2 separate regions of the Homo sapiens genome follow, and region 1 is linked to region 2. Evidence: promoter capture Hi-C in 16 types of primary human blood cells and fetal thymus (Javierre and others, 2016). All regions are on one chromosome and are shown on one strand. The core of a region is centred on a gene start or on the middle of the fragment in contact, and the rest is flanking DNA. Distances in the headings are between cores, read along the strand shown. Region 1 has its middle 19 kb from the start of KRT18. Region 2 holds the start of KRT5 (keratin 5).

Region 1 (4,078 bases), core at 1,379-3,878, 450 kb after region 2:
AACAACCTTCCTCCCAAAATAAATATATGAATAATAAAAAATTAGCCTGCCTTGGCCGGGCGCAGTGGCTCACGCCTGTAATCCCAGCACTTTGGGAGGCCGAGGTGGGCGGATCACGAGGTCAGGATATCGAGACCATCCTGGCTAACACGGTGAAGCCCCGTCTCTACTAAAAATATAAAAAATTAGCCGGGCGTGGTGGTAGGCGCCTGTAGTCCCAGCTACTCAGGAGGCTGAGGCAGGAGAATGGCGTGAACCCGGGAGGCGGAGCTTGCAGTGAGCCGAGATCTCGCCACTGCACTCCAGCCTGGGCGACAGAGCGAGATTCCGTCTCAAAATAAATAACCAAATTAATTAAATTAAATTTAAAAATTTAAAAAAATTAGCCTGCCTTGGTGGTGCGCACCTGTTATCCCAGCAACTCGGGAGGCTGAGGCAGGAGGACTGCTTGAGACCAGGGGTTGAAAAACAGGCTGGGCAACAAAGTAAGACTCCATCTCTACAAAAAATTTTAAAATTCACCTGGCGTGGTCGCGTGTGCCTTTGGTCCCAGCTACACAAGGGGCCCAGACGGGAGGATTGCCTGAGCCCCAGAGGTTGAGGCTGCAGTGACCCATGTTTGCACCACTGCACTCCAGCCTGGGTGACAGAGTGAGATCTTGTCACAAAGATAAATAAATAAATAAGTAGAATGCAGAGCAATGAAACCCTCATATGTTGCTGGTGGGAATACAAAACGTGTACAACTACTTTGGAAAACAGTTGGGCCGTTTTTTCTAAGTTTAAAAATACACCTCCCAGCGCGGTGGCTCACGCCTGTAATCCCAACACTTTGGGAGGCTGAGGCGGGCGGATCACGAGGTCACGAGTTCAAGACCAGCCTGGCCAATATGGTGAAACCCTGTCTCTACTAAAAATACAAAAAAAAAAAAAAAATAGCCAGGCGTGGTGGCATGCGCCTGTATTCCCAGCTACTTGGGAGGTTGAGGCAGAAGAATTGCTTGAACCTGGGAGGCGGAGTTTGCAGTGAGCTGAAATCTTGCCATTGCACTCCAGCCTTGGGCAACAGAGCAAGACTCTGTCTCAAAAAAAATAGTAATAAAAATAAAAATATACTTACCAGCTCGGTGTGGTGGCTCACACCTCTGATCCCAGCACTTTGGGAGGCCGAGGTGGGTGGATCACCTGAGGTCAAGAGTTCGAGACCAGCCTGACCAACATAGAGAAACCCCGTCTCTACTAAAAATACAAAATTAGCCAGGCGTGGTGGTGCATGCCTGTAATCCTAGCTACTTGGGAGGCTGAGGCAAAAGAATCACCTGAACCCGGGAGGCGGAGGTTGCAGTGAGCCAAGTTTGTGCCATTGCACTCCAGCCTGGGTGACAAGAGTGAAACTCCATTCTCAAAAAAATAAATAAATAAAATAAAATAAATAAACAGATGGTTCAAGTTTGGCCTCTCCCAGTAGGAATCCTCTTTGTGGCCTTCCTAACATCTGGCCTCCGTTTGAAGAATTTATGACAGTATAGCCCCTGTTGGATAATAATTGTATAATTACTGGAACATTATTGTTCCTTCTACTGGGCTGAAATCTGCCTCCTACTAACCTTCTAAACTCAGCTCTGCCCACTAGAGTTACACAGAACTCCCTCTTCCATTAGATTTCAGCCATAAGTGATTATTCTTCCCCTAACCTGTATAAAAGCAGCCCCAGTCACGGTGTAAGGATTTAGCTGCACTGCTGGCCTCAACCTCACCTGCCTGAATGAGCTGGAAAATAATTATCTACACAGAAACAGCCCAAGGAATTAGAATGATAGTGATGCTCAGATCCGGGGAGGCTGTGTCCCCCTGAAGGCCCTGGTCAGATCCTGGTGAAGTGGATGGTGCTGCCACAGGAGGGATGTAGGGTAAACTTCTCAGAGACTCAGGGCACTCCAGTGATCTGGGCCCAAAGCACACAGTTCCTTTTCCTCTCCCCACAATCCACACTGGAGCAGCAGGCTCTAGTGGGCCCCTCCCAGGCTGGCAGAACTTTCCCTATCACCCACTCCCCAGAAGCAAAAAAAGTTTAAAAAGCACCAGCCTAAGGCTGGGTGCAGTGGCTCATGCCTGTAATCCCAGCACTTTGGAAGGCTGAGGCGGGCAGATCACAAGGACAGGAGTTCAAGACGTGCCTGACCAACATGGTAAAACCCCGTCTCTACTAAAAATACAAAAATTAGCCAGGCATGGTGGTGCATGCCTGTAATCCCAGCTACTCGGGAGGCTGAGGCAGGGGAATTGCTTGAACCCGAGAGGCAGAGGTTGCAGTGAGCCAAGATCATGCCATTGCACTCCAGCCTGGGCAATGGAGCAAGACTCCGTCTCAAAAAAAATAAATTATTGTACATTTAAAAATAACTAAAAGAGTATAATTGGATTGTTTGTAACATAAAGGATAAATGCTTGAAGTGATGGATGCCCTGATGAGATTATTATGCATTGTATGCCTGTATCAAAATATCTCGTGTACCCTAAAATAGATACACATACTGGGTACCCACAAAAATTAAAAACTTTTTTTTTTTTGAGACAGAGTTTCACTCTTGTTGCCCAGGCTGGAGTGCACTGGCTCAATCTCGGCTCACTGCAACCTCCGCCTCCCAGGTTCAAGTGATTCTCCTGCCTCAGTCTTCCGAGTAGTTGGGATTACAGGCGCCCACCACCACACCTGGCTAATTTTTTTTTTTTTTTTTTTTTTTTGGATTTGGAGTAGAGACGGGGTTTCGCCATGTTGGCCAGACTGGTCTCGAACTCCTAACCTCAGGTGATCCACCTGCCTCGGCCTCCCAAAGCGCTGGGATTACAGGCATGAGCCACCAGACTCAGCCAAAATTAAAAACTTTAAAAAATAAATTAATAACCACAGCAGTAGCTAGTAGCTAATGGCTACCAGATTGGACAGGACAGTGCAGCACCAGACTGTAAGCTCCCTTTGAGCAGAGACTGGACTATCTTGTTCACTCTTATGCCCTGATACATAACACAATTCCAACACATAAACAGCAGGTTGTTATTTTCTTTTTTAAAGACAAAAATTTGAAATTGTAATTTTTATTAAATTGTAAATAAAATGTTATTTTATTTTATTTAATAACCTATAGCATTTGCCAATATCCAAGGTATAAATACTGCTGTCATGGTTGATTTAAAATGGTTTAATTCTGGGAAGCAAAATTTTCAAATTTAACAATCTTCTCTTACTAGCTTTTGAATGAATAAGCAAATGAATGAACAAATAAATGAGCAAATAACAAACCAAGAGGAGTCTCTGCATGCCTCACCCAAGGAAAAGAGGACAAAGGAGAGTAGAAGAATATTTCAAGATGCCAGCAGTCCTCTCACTCTCTTTGCAGGTCCTCTTTGTTCCAGGAAAGAGAACTTAGTGGGAGAACAATTGAACTTCCTCAGCTTCGCTTCACACACACCCCAGCTTTAAGAAAGCCCAGGAAGAATTTGTTTTTTTTTTTTTTTTTGAGACGGAGTCTTACTCTGTCACCCAGGCTGGAGTGTAGTGGCGTGGTCTCGGCTTCTCAGCTCACTGCAACCTCCACCTCCCAGATTCAAGCGATTCTCCCGCCTCAGCCTCTCCAGTAGCTGGGATTACAGGTGTGCACCACCACGCCCAGCTAATTTTCGTATTTTTAGTAGAGACAAGGATTTCACCACGTTGGCCAAGCTGGTCTCAAACGCCTGACCTCAAATGATCCACCTACCTCGGCCTCCCAAAGTTCTGGGATTACAGACATGAGCCACCTCACCTAGCCTTTGGATTACAGACATGAGCCACCTCGCCTAGCCTTTTTTTCTTTTTAAGGAAAAAAAGAAAAATAAAATCTCATCTTAATCTGCTCCATTTTTTTTTCTTTTTAAAGAAACTTTCCCAAGTCACTTAAACAGTCTTCGTAATGGGAAGGCACTCAAACTATAAATCTCCCTGTCATTTAGGAATGCTCAGTGCAAATGTTTATAGAACCCGGGCACCACTTTCAACCTCTCCTTTGAAGAAGGGCTTTGTAATCCTCCTCTGGGGTCA
Region 2 (3,943 bases), core at 1-2,500:
TGCTCCAGGAACCGCACCTGGAGGGGAGCAGGGTTTGAAGATAGAGAAACTTGGATTTCATGTTCTATGATCAACTCACTAAGGTGCCTCCCACCTCTTTCCGTCCCTCTAAAGCTTTTCTGTGCACTGTGCCTGGCCCTGGGCCCCAGGAGGGGAGGTGCAGACTGAGGCACCCAAACTCACTTTTCCAGGGGGAGATAGGACACCTATCCAGGGCACAGAAAGCACTAGGAGTGCTGCTTGGAGTGTGTCCCGGCTCAGGGGTGGCTGCAAAGGCACTCAGGCTGCTGCCCATGCACTTGTCTACCTTCCTGTACAGTCAGCCCCTTTATATATGGCATGAAATTCATCTCTCTGTCCAACAGTTGTTAAGAGGCCCTTGTGAGCTAACCTCTGAATGGGAAGAAATAATTCTCCCTTCCCAGCTGCCAGTCTAATTCAGAACGTGTCCACAAATCCAGGGCACAGAAACAAACGGAAACACAGAACTGTACAACTATAAAAGTATTTGCACAAAGCCAAAACATCTTCCTTCTTTCTCTCTCTTTGGCATTTATTTCAGACCCACAGTGATTTTTTACAAAAGATCGTAGCTCACCTTGTCGATGAAGGAGGCAAACTTATTGTTGAGGGTCTTGATCTGCTCGCGCTCCTCGGTCCTCACCCTCTGGATGCTGGGGTCGATTTGCAGGTTGAGGGGAGTCAGGAGACTCTGGTTGACAGTGACCTCTTGGATACCTCCAGGAGGGCAGACAGGAAAGCCAGGGCCACCGAAGCCACCTCCAAAGCCAGCTCCGCCACCGAGCCCAAAGCCACCACCAGCTCCACCGCCGAAACCAAATCCACTACCGGCACCACCTCCAAAGCCATAGCCGCCTCCAGCACCAGCACCAAACCGGTTCCTGAAGCTGCCACCACTAGTGCTGATGGATATCCTCTTGGAGCCCCCCAGGTTGTAGAGGCTCCGGCTGCCATAGCCACCCACTCCACAAGCACCCGCAAGGCTGACCCTGCCGAAGCCACCACCACCGCCACCCCCGGACCGGGACACGGAGGTGAAGCTGGTGCGGGAGACAGACGGGGTGATGGCAGAGGCGGTGCTGAAGCTACGACTGCCCCCGCTCCGGAAGGACACACTTGACTGGCGAGACATGGTGGCTTGTTCCTGGTGGAGCAAGAGAACCAGGCACTAGTGGGTTGGGAGGTGCTGGAGAGAACAGAGCTCAGCAGGACGCAGAAGGTGGCTCTGTTACCCAGGAACGGTGATGCCCCCTTTTTATCCCTTCCAGAACTGGGCTGGGCGAGAGAGCTGTCGAGCTGTGAATGATTAAGTGGGCTGGGCATGCCTGGGGGGCAGCTGTGAGCTCACCGGTCACACCTGCACAGTGGTGTGGGGTGCAAACGCTTTCTTCCTGGCAGGCTCTGCTCAGTTAGAAATAACCTTGCCTTGCAGCACTGATCTCTTGGCAGCAAGTTGGTGACGCTGCTAGCAAGTATGTCTTCACCATAGAGGCTGGGGGCTGTGAGCAGCCCAAAAAGGATGCCAGGAACTGAGGGGGCATTGGCATGGCCAGTGTCCTGGGGACTCTTACAGGACCAGGAGTATTGACAACCATCCCAGTACGGTACATGCTGAGCACCTGCCCTTCCAGCTTGGGGAAGCTGTCCATCAGCGGGGGGCAAACGATTCCCCAGTGATCTGCTCTTACACTTTTCCAGGCAGCAGGTTGCTGCAGGGTTTTCCCCTCTGGGAAAGGCAATCTGTAGCCTTATATTCTTGGTTATGTGCTAGAGGGAAAATAGAGTTTCATCCTTTTCTGCACAATTTTTTTCTTAGGGAAGGCACAGCTATCCCAGAGCCCACTGGGCAGATCTGCCTGCAAGGTTTAGGCCAGAGAATGTGGGAAGCCCTCAGCGCCCCCTATAAACCACTTTGACCTCTTTAAGGCCAGGTTTATCCTTCCATAGCTCCTCCTAACTCAGCATTTTTTCTGCCCTTTGACCTTTTCCTTGCTCTTTGGCCTGGGCAGGACTCTGTGGGGGGTTTAGGAAACCCGGGGATCCCATGCAATCCCTTAAAAAAAAACCCTGAGACTCATGGGCTATAGCGTCTCTCTTTGGGGGTAGCTACTCTGCCGGTTCCCCAGCCCCCCAGGTGTGTTCCAGCAAGCTCTATTCCACTAGGGAAGAAATGAGTCATCGTATGTGTTGATACAGGCTGAAGGCCGCCACAAACACATACCTGCAGGAGCTTCTAATCTCATCAGGAACATGTTGAGAGTCTGACGGCCTGTTATAACGGCGAACCACCCTGTTCCAAGCAGCGGGACTTGCTCTGCTTTCTCTATGCTGTAGCCCACAGCCTCCTTCAGGGCCAAGGCAATGGAAAACGGGATTCTAAGTCTATGGATTGTCCTGCCAGAAAGGCTAGCCAGAGCAGGCCTGTGGGCCCAGGCAGCTGGCATGACAATCTGCCAGCTGCTTTAGGGAGGGCCCTTTGAGATCCCCTCTGCAAAACTTGTCTGGGGGGTTGTGGCACCAGGTGGAGGAAAGGGGGTTTCTGATGAGGTTTTAACACACGTCTGTTCTAAACCACACCCACTCTTTTTGGCAGCAGATCTGAGTGGGGCCACCTCTCTGCCGTCCCCCAAATAGAAGCAGGGCTCTCAGGCAGGACAGTGCTTGGGCTGTTCAGAGTTTCGGGGGCGCCCTGTGGCCCGAGGCTGGAGGTAGGAATGCAATGGGGATGGCTTCAAAGCCTCAGGGAGGAGGGGCTATATTCTCAAGAGTAGAAGAACAGGACCAGACCCAGGCTCAGGAATCTCTCACCAGGGCCTGCGGTTGGCCACAAGGAAGCCAAGGCAGTGGGAAAATGACTCCCTGGTGCTGAGGATCAGCTGAAACAGTGACTTCTCACCAGAGGGCTGCGATGAGCAAGCAGCTGACAGGTCAATCTCGGCAGACAGACCAATGGCCGGAGCCGGTCTTACAGGTCTTGAGCAAAATGGTTTGGGTGGCCTCCCTGGCTGGAGCATTTCTGAGACCCTCAGAGATGAATTGTGCTGAGCTCACCATTTTCACATTTGGTTGCTTTCTGGAGAACAGATGTGAGTGTCCTGGAGGCCTGAGACATACCAGGGGACCCTCGGCTCCTGATAGAACAGAACAGATCCAAGCCTGAAGCAAGTGTCTGAGGACTCGTAGTGGGATGCTCCTGCTCCACTCAAAGATCGATATCGGGGTATATCCCCACCACCACATACACTCACAGGTCCCGGGTACAGACCTCACTGCCCTCAGGGAAGCCCCACCCCTCCTGAGACACTGGGACATTCTCTTCTCCCCATTCATTCTCCTCCCAGCTGTGTTGTGAAGAAAGAGGACTTGGCAGAGCAGGAATGCGTTCTGGCTAGTCTGAGGATTGCTAGAGTGTGCCAAGCTCAGATCCATGTGCCAGGGACCAACGGTGAGTGTGTGGTGCTCCATGGGAGCAGGGAGCATGTGGGTGCTCCATGGGAGAAGCAGCAGCACTCTTCTATCCGAGCTTCGTGGGAATCCTCCCATGAGCAGGCAGGGCAGCCCCTCCCTCAATGCCAGACCTGGACAGGTATAAATAATGGAGCCGCTCCTGGTGGGGAGCCAGGCACCAGCACCACTGCAGCTCGGGAGAGTCCCACCCCAGCCTGGAATTTCACTGTGGCAGGAAGGGAGGGATTGTGTTAGGCTCACCAGGGAGCTTTCCTGCTGGGCACCCCACAGAGGCAGTTCCCAGGCTTGGTGGGACATGTTGCTCAGCTTCTCCTCTGGGTGCTGCTTTCCTTGTCAGCAGAAGACAGTGCAGGGCCCGCCCTGCTGCTCTCCCCATCAGAGAAAGGACAGTAAGCTGGCTGCCCTGACCTCTCTCGCAGAGCTGTGCAGGGAATGTAGGACCTGGTCAGCATTT

The links. Contacts are between HindIII fragments. The CHiCAGO score rates a contact against its expected background, and 5 or more counts as called.
Region 1: a contact is called between a fragment that was not itself captured here and the fragment with the promoter of KRT5 in region 2, in 6 of 17 cell types (M1 macrophages, M2 macrophages, M0 macrophages and 3 more). The highest score is 8.0, in M1 macrophages.

Annotation. Positions count from the first base shown.
Region 1 is chr12:52,965,934-52,970,011 of GRCh38, forward strand. No RefSeq gene overlaps it. Among named protein-coding and RNA genes, the nearest start is that of KRT18, 19 kb to the left of the region's middle. The HindIII fragment of the contact is 7,174 bases long and covers 1-4,078 here.
Region 2 is chr12:52,519,144-52,523,086 of GRCh38, forward strand. KRT5 (keratin 5) reads right to left here and starts at 1,251. Exons shown (of 9, transcript NM_000424.4): 1 at 599-1,251; 2 at 1-17. The coding sequence starts at 1,153. RefSeq lists enhancers at 1-338, 3,158-3,943. The HindIII fragment of the contact is 4,587 bases long and covers 113-3,943 here.